Regions from separate parts of the Homo sapiens genome. Here regions 2 and 3 are each linked to region 1. The links are contacts of gene promoters, found by promoter capture Hi-C in blood cells and fetal thymus (Javierre and others, 2016). All regions are on one chromosome and are shown on one strand. Each heading gives the region's core, a stretch centred on a gene start or on the middle of the fragment in contact. The rest is flanking DNA. Distances are from core to core; before and after follow the strand shown. Region 1 holds the start of IL9 (interleukin 9). Region 2 overlaps TRPC7 (transient receptor potential cation channel subfamily C member 7). Region 3 overlaps SMAD5 (SMAD family member 5).

Region 1 (3,419 bases), core at 545-3,044:
AACTGATTTTTTCACCCGACTGAAAATCAGTGGGTATCTTGTTTGCATGGTGGTATTGGTCATCTGAGACAGTCTCTCACTGAAGCATGGTCTGGTGCAGTTGTCCTGGTAAATAGTAAGGATTTATTCAAAGAAATATTCTGAGGACAGCTTTGGAAATATATCACAAAGAGCAATATAATAGAGATGATTTTTATTTAATCACCATTACTCAAACTTGCATTATTTTTAGACAGGTCCCTTGCCAATGTAGGAAGTGATCTCCCGTATTTAAAGGGGATGCCATTTTTCCACAGTGACATCCCCTGGAGGAGACTTCCTGTATGTTACATCCAGGAAACATGAGGGCTCTGGGCCCTGAAATAGTCGGCTCTGAATGTTCTTTTCAACGGGTGCTTCCCGGCTTCAAGGCTTGTAAGTCTGAAAGTGCAGAGTGAGGAAAAGCCTTTTCACACCAGCTAATGGGATGTGACAATTGAATGCAGCTGGTATTTCAGCAGCAGCTAAAAACATGGACGGTACTCCAAGGGACAGGGGCTGTGCTGTCTGCCTGGTTCCTGCCCAGAAGGCACTCTATCCTCTTCTCATCTAATGGATGGACCGCGATGGGTGCGATGTCTTACCCTAGCCAGGGCAAGAAGCTCAGATTCTTCAGATTCTCCCAGGCCTTGCATGAGAAAGAATAAAGCACTGCACCTTGGAGAAGTGCCTCCTCCTCACCCTAACCAGGAGTTTGAATTAGGAATCAGAACTTTCCTGCCACCCATCCTTCCTGCCGTAGTGGGCAGTGGCCCTCTGGAAGCCCTCCTTCCACTCACAACCTCAGATCCTCTACCTGCCCAGAGGGCAGCATTCAAACCAACAGTCACTCTAATCAGCTAGACAGACAACAGGGTGGTGGGGAGGAAGGGAGGAGGCAGGGAGGGGGAGGTATAGCGCATAGATCATTCATGACAGATGAAAGATAAGGAGTTGTCATTTTATTTACATTGTTTCACAACTCTAGAGTTATCAGTAAATGAGTTAGAAAGCAATATGATATGAGCTACAGCAATTATTATATCCTTAGTTCCAGTTTTATTTAATTGTGCACATGGCCACCTATCTAAAAAGATATTCAGGATTCTTTTTTTAATGTTGAAAAGTGTTCAAACTTCTCAAGAGGCATAAAGTTAATTAAATACAAAGAAATGTTCATAATATAGGATTTCAAGATCGTAGTTTTAAAAGGGAATAATTTGTAACAATGTGGTTTTAACAGGGAATACTAATCTGTAACAATTAAATTAAGCAACAATGTATAACATTAAATATTAAATAAAGCAACTTATTTTTACTTAAAAACAAACCAAAAAAATCCAAGGTCAACATTATGTTATTTCACTATACTTACAGAGGGAATGCCCAAACAGAGACAACTGGTCACCTGCAAGGGAAATTTCAGAGTGAAGATTCCAGATGTGAAAATTAAAATTAATTTGGAAAGTTCTTAAAGAGCATTCACTCACATTAGCACTGCAGTGGCACTTGGAAGCTGGATCTTCCTAAAGTAGATAGAGAGATAAGAACCTTTAGTCAGCCCCGAGTTTTTTCATCCTCATACATATTTCACTTTGTCAGTAGCTGTCTTTCCCATGGGCTCCCCCTGCAGCCTACCTGCATCTTGTTGATGAGGAAGTTGATGTCCAGGATCCCCGCCAAGGTTGGACACCCCTGGCCTGCCACGGAGCACAGGAGCAGGGCAGAGGTAAGGACCATGGCCAGAAGCATCTTGACAGCGGACTGGAGCTCGCTTGCAGACACCTTCAAATCGAGTGGTATTTAAAGCTCCCTCTCAAACACGGAAAAACCCTGACATCAAACTGATACCAAGAGCCCACTTTTTCTCTGTAAGTTGGGGCCACTTTATACTAACAAACAAAAAAATCAAACTGAGTCACTTGACAGAGATGATGCTGTGCCAGGAAATATCATTCCTCAGAAAAGATGATTTTCAAAAAGTTGAGTACTGAAATGCTGAAGGAAAAGTTAAAGATCTAAAAACCAAGAAAAAAAATTCAAAGACAGGGATTCTGGTTGTGAGAGTTAGAATACTTTCCATGAACGCCCAGGTCTGTATTTTCCCTTTTTACATTATGGGAAATGCTGATATAATATAGCCAGTCATGGGTGTTCTAACGAAGGGGGGCCTGGGGAGACAGAGCGGGTTGGGGGAGGGTGCATGATATTGCAGAACTTCACTTATCTCTGTTGGGGTTTTCCTTTAGTAATTGCAACCTCAGTCTTACTATGCTTTATTCCCAAATCTCAATGTTTTTCATACCCAGGATGAAGTTTGCCACCTAATGCAAATGCATCTTAGAAGTATCCCTTTGTGCAAGTGTCTGAAAGAAGAAATGTTCAACTATAAGCACAAGAATGCGGCAACCATGCTTGTTAAAATTGGCCTTGAGGACTCCTCAGTATCTTTGGAGATCTTATATAACACTGTATGACATCAAGTAAAAACCCAGCACTTGAAAGAGTATAGTAGCTAACATTTACTGAGAACTTACTACATACTAGTAACATTTCTTTTTTTTTTTTTTTTTTTTTTGAGACAGAGTCTCCCTCTGTCACCAGGCTGGAGTGCGGTGGCACAATCCAGGTTCGCTGCAACCTCTGCCTCCCGGGTTCAAGCGATTCTCCTGCCTCAGCCTCCCGAGTAGCTAGAATTACAGGCACCCTCCACCACGCCCGGCTAATTTTTTGTATTTTTAGTAGAGACGAGGTTTCACTATGTTGGCCAGGCTGGTCTTGAACTCCTGACCTCGTGATCCGCCCGCCTTGGCCTCCCAAAGTTCTGGGATTACAGGCATGAGCCACTGGGCCTGACCATACTAGCAACATTTCTAAGTACTTTACATGCATTAAGCCATGTAATACACTCGGCTGCCAAATGAGGTGGGGAGTAATTTGTCATCACCATTTTTTACCCTTTAAAACACTGTCTACATCTTAGCTTCCTGGCCCTTCAGTATGGCTGTGTTTAATCACTATGAGTCAAAAAAGCAATCTCAGTGTAACTCTATGAAGTACTATAATTATTCTTATTATCTTACAGATGGAGAAACTGAGGCATAGAGAGGCAGGTAATTTGCCCAAAACCACAAAGCCAGGAAGCCGCAGAATTTGTATTCAAGCCCAGAAGTCTGCCTCCTGATTTCAGCTCTTAATCCTCCTGAACTCCTGTTTTTCTGCAGATCTTTTATCTGCCTCTCCCACCAGGATATATACTCCAGGGCTTTATGGGTCCAGTTCACCCCTATATTCTCAGCACTTAAGGAGGTGCCTGGGGAACTGTGGGCACTCACTAAATGCTTGTTGAATTAAAACACTAATTTGAAAAGTAGTTCTTGAAATACGAACTTCCTACTTCT
Region 2 (3,419 bases), core at 436-2,935, 340 kb after region 1:
TGTACTGTTACATAGATTAGATTCCCCTATTTGTATTTTTCTATAACTTGCATTTTTTCACTTAATAATGTGTTAGGGATTTTCCCATGTCAGTACAAAACAGTCTTTCTCATGCTGGATGTACAGTATCCTACACCTTATTCTAAAGTGTGACTATATCACAGTTTATTTAAACATTCTCATATCAATGGACTATTTCCAGGTTTTTCCTTTAACGAACATCTACGTAAAATGATATTGGATCTATTCCCAGAATTGGAATTGTTGAGTCAATAGGTCAGTGCTTTTTATTTTAACTTTAGCTTATTTATTTAATCATGTAGAAGGTAAAGCAACAACATGATTTATAAAGGATAAAAAGTATAAAGAAAAAGGAATTCCACCCACCATGCCCCCTATTCCCACCTCTCAACAGGCACCCCGTGGTGTCTTTCTTGTGGACCTTTCAGAGGTTTGTTCTTTTCATTTGCTTATACAATCACAAATGAATCACATTCCCTTTTCTTTCTCTCTTACACAAGAGAGAGCCCACTATATACATTGTTCTGGAACTTGATTTTTACCTCCTACCACTGTAACTTGAAGGTCTTTCCCCATCAGCATATACAGAACATATTTATCCTTCTTAAAATAGAATTGCACAGCATCCCATTTTTCAGATGCATCGTAGTCTATTTAATTAGATTCCTATTAATGCTCAGTTTGTTTTTAATTTCTTGCTGTTCCAAACAAGCTGCAATCAATAGCTTATGGTTCATGCCTTTTAGATTTTGATAAATTGCTTCCTGATACATTCTCTCAACCCCTTTATCTGTCAGGCAAAATTGTTCTGTTTTTAAATGGCCTTCCAGCATCACCTCTGGAAGCTTCCCCCATAGTCAATCTCTGTCTCTGTCCCCACACCACTCCCCACAACCTGGTTGCACTGGCCCCAGGGCATTGGAATTTGTTGATTGCCCTGTATGATCTCCTCACTGGACTATGAGTTTCTCTAGGCAGGAACTGTGTCTTAGTCATCTTGGTATCACCAGTGCCTAGTGCGGATTTGGCATACAGTAGGTACTTAATAAATAACACGTGAGAGGCGAAAGGGGCCTGGGGGCTGAAAGTCATTCTGATTGATTGCCATGGGTCATCTGCACGAGGTCCTGAGAAGACAAGTGTAAAAGAGAGAAGACTCATGACCCCAGTTCTTTCTGCTCTCGCTGGGCCTCATGGTGGTACCAGCAATGCCATGGGGCAGACTGACTTTGACTGCTTCTATTTCTAGAAGCAATCCAGGAAGAATGCCTGTTCTTTGCTGTTCTGGCTGCACATTTAACAACACATGGGCTTCTAACATCATTCCCCTCATTGCTGAAAAAAGCAATGTAAATTAGATGAAGGAGAGCAAGCATTTTCAGTGACCTGGCCTTACCTCAATTTCCTGATAGGAGTTGTTTATCATGGCTATTAGCATGTTGAGCAACACTACCACCATGGTGACGTTATAAACGCCGTAGAGAACGTAGCCAATGTTCTCGATGAATTTGTGGTCGTATTTCAGCACCACTGAGATTACTTCAGATAAGCCGAATATGGACCAAAACAAAGTTTTAAAACTTTCTTCAACCCTGCAAAGAAACAGACGGTCCTTTTACGCAGTTTGCATCAGCTTGAACTTTTATTTATTCATTCATTTATCTTGAGACAGGGTCTCACTCTGTTGCCTAGGCTGGAGTGCAGTGGCTCAATCATGGCTCACTCTAGCCCTGACCTCCTGGACTCAAGCAATTCTCCTGCCTTAGCCTCCTGAGTAGGTGGGACTACAGCTGTGCACCACCGCACCTGGCTAATTGTTTCATTTTTTGTAGGGATAGGATCCCACTATGTCGCCCAGGCTGGTCTTGAACTCCTGGGCTCAAGGTATCATCCCATCTTAGCCTCCCACAGTGCTGGGATGACAGATGTAAGCCACTGCATCTGGCCAGCTTGAACTTTTAAAATGAAAGTTGCCATTGGTCATGCTTTACCCTGGAGTGCCCAGTTGTTACCCTGGAGTGGGGCTGGGCTGGTTGGTGATGCCTGCATTCTGAGATAATGTGATATTCAGATTTCTAAGAAGACTTTGAAAGAATATTAAAAATGGCAAGCTCTTTATTTTTTATTCAATCCATTTATTGGGACTCCTGGCTGTGGTATCACTTTTCTCTTACTGTAATTAACTTAAACATTTAAAATTAAACACCTGGGTAAATGTTTGTTCTTGTGCATTATGAGCCCCAGAAAGTGCATTCTTCCTTCCATTAAGCCCTAACCATTTCTTCTCAGACTCCACAGCCCACGTGAAGGGGAGTGATGGCAGACACCTGGAAAGTGGGCAGTGTCCACACAGGAGGATGGCATCCCTGGAGTCTGACACTTCTAGGCACTCGACAAAGAGCAGCTCACTTAAGCCTCATGACCAGCTCTGTGGCGGGCTCTCATATGACCTCCTGTTACAGAGCTGAGGCTAGCCACATGTATTAAGCTTTCTAAACTGGGGCTGAATTATCAAGAATGAGAGTGGGGATTTTGGTGTGCCCACATGGTTCAAAATCACCAGGTGATTGCCCAAACCTCACCCTACGGCTCACTTAGGTTAGATGCTGCATGTGCCTTGAAGGCAGTTCAGGTTAGTCTCAGCTTTAACGACACTGCTCTTTGGCCCTTTTGAGACTACGAAGTAACTGAAATACAGTAGTGTTATGAATAAGACCCAAGTGCATTTCGTAGTCCATACTCTATGGGCATGACACTGTATCAGGCTGATGACCTAGAATCGAATAAGAAAGCTGGATTTTGGTTGGGAGGTTTAGACCATGCATGTATATCTGGTAACATCTGAATGGTTAAGTGCAGTTCTTTTAGTTTTCATCCAGATTTTTGGTACCACTGTAAGAAAGCACTTTTTTTTTTCCTCTTTAACATTTCAGGTTTTCAACACTCACCCACAAATGGCCAGGATTAGCTAGATCTTTAAAAATATCAGCATTTCTCAAGGATTGGTATTTATTTGACAAGATGTACAAAAATACTGGTACTCGTCACTTGGGCTAAAAATCCAACTCTTGACTCGCATGAATTTACAGCTCTCCCGAGTGTGATTGTGTGGGGGTGTATGTGTATCTGTGTGTGCGTGTGCATGTGTGTGTGTCTACCCAGCTGTTTGGCTCATTCCCTATGCACACTCTTCAGAGTCTGAAAAACTGATATTTGAAGTGGGATTCTATTGTCAGTGTTTGTTTTTAGTTTCTTTTAAAACTGTGATTTTGAAACATTTAATTCATTTTAGCATTAGCGAGAAATAATTTAGTTGGGTGTTTATAAGCAACGACAGGGTATTAAGCCATTATTGCAGAGCTCCAGCTCCTGGTGCTATTCTGGAAGGGGGGAGAACT
Region 3 (3,419 bases), core at 472-2,971, 260 kb after region 1:
TTTATTCTTCTTACTTAAATCCTATATTTAAAATATGAGCAAATGCTGTTTGCTGCACCTTCAAAATATGTCTTAATAAATATGTCACCTCTCATCATTTGTGACATCACTACTTTAGTACAGTACATCATCATCATCACTCACCTTAAGTAGTGTCCTAATTGGTCTTTCTGCGTCTCTTCTTCCCCTTAACCCATTGTGTTTTCCACACAACAGCCAGAATGATTTTTTAAAAACATACTAAATCATGTCAGTTCCTACTGAAAACACTTTCAAGGCTGTCACACTTAAAGAGATTTCTGTAAGACTCTGTATGACCTATCCTCAGAGTTCTCTGTTCCTTGGACTTGCCATACTCCTGTTTCCAGGCTTTAACTCTTGCTGTCTACTTATTCTCCCCCAGGATCTTTCCATGGCACATTTTCTCATTCCATTCAGTCCTTGCTCAAATATCCGCATCACTAATTGACTCTATATTAGATATTTATTTTGTTTATTGACTGACATGAGCAGAGTCTTCCTCTATTTCATTCATTACTCTATCCTTAGTGCTTAGAATAGTATATTGTTGTCTGGCACTTGGTAGGTGATGCTCAGTAAATTTTTTTTATAATGAATGGTATAAGCTGAGCTGCTAGCTGAGTGCATTAGTCATCTATTGCTGCATGACAGATTGCCACAAACTTAGTGGCTTAGCACAATGCATGTTTATTACCTCACAGTTTCTTTGGGTGAGGAGTCCAGTCACATTTAGCTGGGTCCTTTGCAAGGCGCTGTAATCAAGGTGTTGGTTAGGGCCAAGGTCTTATCAGAAGCTCAATTAGGGAAGGATCTGCTTCCAAGCCCATGTGATTGTTGACAGATTTAGTTGCTTTCACATAGCCTTCTTTATAGGTAGTTCACATTCATGACAGCTTCTTCAAAGCCAGTAAGGAAGAGAGGGTCTTCTGGTAAGAAGGACATTATATTCTTGTGGAATGTAATCATACATACGCTGTCACCTTTGCCATATTCTGTTGGTTAGAAGGAAGTGATAGGTCATACTCATACTCAAGCAGGGAGAATTACCCAATGGTTTGAATACCTGGAGGTGGGAATCACAGTGGTTACCTTAGAGTCTATCTGGGTTTCACGTGGAGATGTGTGGTAAAAAGACTGAAAATAACATTGGATGTGGAGACTAGTAGAAAGGATAGCAGATAGCAGTGATTATGCTGTCTGTGAAAGTTCAACTTAAGAGCTTTAGAGTGTCTTTAGACAGTTGGTATGATATGATTCTCAGTTTCTTACTGAGTCCAAGGAAAGCTGATAGCTGAAGGAACTGATGAAGAAAGGAAGATAAAAGGATTTAATAGAGAAGTATAGGCTGAAAAACTCCCAAGCTTGCTATTTGCTAGGAGGGAGTCTAGGAATTTTATGTATTCCCCTATAGCCAAAGTGTGACTAGTAGTCAGCCAGCCAATAGAAATGTCTTATTTTTTGTATACATTTTTCTCAGCTATGATTCATTCTATAGAAAAGACTGGGGCATAGCTCTGATACTTTTAAATAACGGAAAATTTCATGTCTTACTAGTTCAACTATTGGAAAGAGACTATAGAGACCTCATGTTTCGCCCTGAGCCCAAACTCTTGGGGGAAGGGGCAGATTACCCAGCTAGATTAGCTTGCTGACCCCCCATGATTAAGCAGCTATGACGCAGAATGGATCACTTCATATTACCAGTATTAATAAAGTAGTAGAAGGTGGTGGTAGTGATAGTAGTAACAGTGATAGCAATTAATATTTATTGAGCACTGATGGAATAGTGATTCCTTCATGGGGTTAGAAAAGGGTACTGACATTTTACAACCCTTTCAGTTTACTTATGGGTTTATAGATAAGGAAACAAAGACTTAAAAGGGAAGTAACTTAGGCATGCTCACACAGTTAGAATATAGTGGAGTAAGTTTTGCAAAAAGATAAAAAGATGGAGGATAGTTAGAAAGAGATAATGAACATAAGAAAAATAGAGGGCCAACCTAGGTGGTCCTAGGTGTTTAGTTGAATACAGTGCACCCTAAGCTTTTTGGCACCAGGGTCTAGTTTCATGGAAGACAGTCTTTCCATAGAATTGGTTGGGGGATGGTTTTGGGATTATTCAAGCACATTATATTTATTGTGCACTTTATTTCTATTATTACATTGTAATATGTAATGAAATAATTATACATTTCACCATAATGTCAAATTAGTGGGAGCCCTGAGCTTGTTTACCTGCAGCTAGGTTGTCTCATCCAGGCATGATGGGAGACAGTGACAGATCATCAGGCATTAGATTCTCATAAGGAGCGCACAACCTAGATCCCTCATATGTGCAGTTGGCGATAGGATTTGCTTTCCTATGAGAATCTCATGCTGCTACTGATCTGACAGGAGGCGGAGTTCAGGCGGTAGTGAGAGCAATGGGGAGTGGCTGGAAATACAGATGAAGCTTCGCTCACTCTCTCTCACCATCACCTCCTGCTGTATGGCCTGGTTCATAAGAGAGCATGAACTGGGGGGGTTAGGGACCCCTGATCTAATAGACAGTATTGTCTATTGATTAAGACTGTGGGTTCTGGAGCCAGGCTTTCTGGATTTGAATCCTGGTTTTACCAAATACTACCTCAAGCCTTAACCTTTCTGAGATTTAGTTTCCTCATTGTAAAATGGTAATAATACTACCTACCTAATAGGTTGTTATGAGCATTAGATGAGTTGGTGCCTTAAAAAGTACTTGTTAAAACATTAAGTGGCCTGGAATCAGTTTCAAATTAAATATCAATTCTAATAGAATAATATATTCTGGAAATAGAGCATTGAGGAAGATGGCAGAGAGAAAATTTTCCAAGAAATAATATCAAACACTTCCCCAAACTGAAAATTGAAAGGGCTCAGTGACCAAGTAATCAGAACAAAGGATAAAAAAAGCCCCACATGAAATTTTTGTATATCATAGATTAAAAAAAAGATTCTGAAAACTTTCCAGAAAAGAAAGACAGGAAACATATAAAGGACTAGAAATCAGAATACTGGATTTCTCAATGCAGTTCTGGATTCTAGAAGAAAGTAAAGTAGTGCTGTCAAAATTCAGAAGGAAATGTTATCTGCCTGCCGACAAGCAAAAAAAATAAATTTTTATACATGCAGGAAGTCAAGAAAATTCAACTTTTTACTTTCTCTTAGGACACTAATAGAGGATGAGGTCCAGGAAATGTGATCCAGCAGTAGAGAAGGGAAGTCCAAGGACTTCAGACTTGTAGGAGACTTGAGCAGTAACCAATATAGGTTGGAACCAAAAGTTGGAAGATCTGGGCCTGGCACGGTGGCTCACGCCTGTAATCCCAGCACTTTGGGAGGCCGAGGTGGGCAGATCACGAGGTCAGGAGATCGAGACA

The links. The method cuts DNA at HindIII sites, captures the fragments that hold promoters and counts their contacts. A CHiCAGO score of 5 or more calls a contact.
Region 2: a contact is called between a fragment that was not itself captured here and the fragment with the promoter of IL9 in region 1, in 10 of 17 cell types (M1 macrophages, M0 macrophages, endothelial precursors and 7 more). The highest score is 8.0, in M1 macrophages.
Region 3: a fragment that was not itself captured here is called in contact with the fragment with the promoter of IL9 in region 1 in 3 of 17 cell types (monocytes, M1 macrophages and M0 macrophages); the score reaches 8.2 in monocytes.

Annotation. Positions count from the first base shown.
Region 1 is chr5:135,894,047-135,897,465 of GRCh38, forward strand. It overlaps IL9 (interleukin 9), which reads right to left and starts at 1,795. Exons shown (of 5, transcript NM_000590.2): 1 at 1,657-1,795; 2 at 1,509-1,544; 3 at 1,394-1,426; 4 at 1-105. The coding sequence starts at 1,770. It overlaps LOC124901074 (a long non-coding RNA gene), which reads left to right. Exons shown (of 3, transcript XR_007058947.1): 3 at 1,652-2,102. The HindIII fragment of the contact is 6,689 bases long and covers 1-3,419 here.
Region 2 is chr5:136,229,937-136,233,355 of GRCh38, forward strand. It overlaps TRPC7 (transient receptor potential cation channel subfamily C member 7), which reads right to left. Exons shown (of 12, transcript NM_020389.3): 8 at 1,418-1,613. All of the region lies in intron 1 of TRPC7-AS2 (TRPC7 antisense RNA 2), which reads left to right. Among named protein-coding and RNA genes, the nearest start is that of TRPC7-AS2, 5.0 kb to the left of the region's middle. The HindIII fragment of the contact is 1,643 bases long and covers 865-2,507 here.
Region 3 is chr5:136,155,283-136,158,701 of GRCh38, forward strand. The region is part of intron 3 of SMAD5 (SMAD family member 5); the gene reads left to right. Among named protein-coding and RNA genes, the nearest start is that of SMAD5-AS1, 22 kb to the left of the region's middle. The HindIII fragment of the contact is 682 bases long and covers 1,381-2,062 here.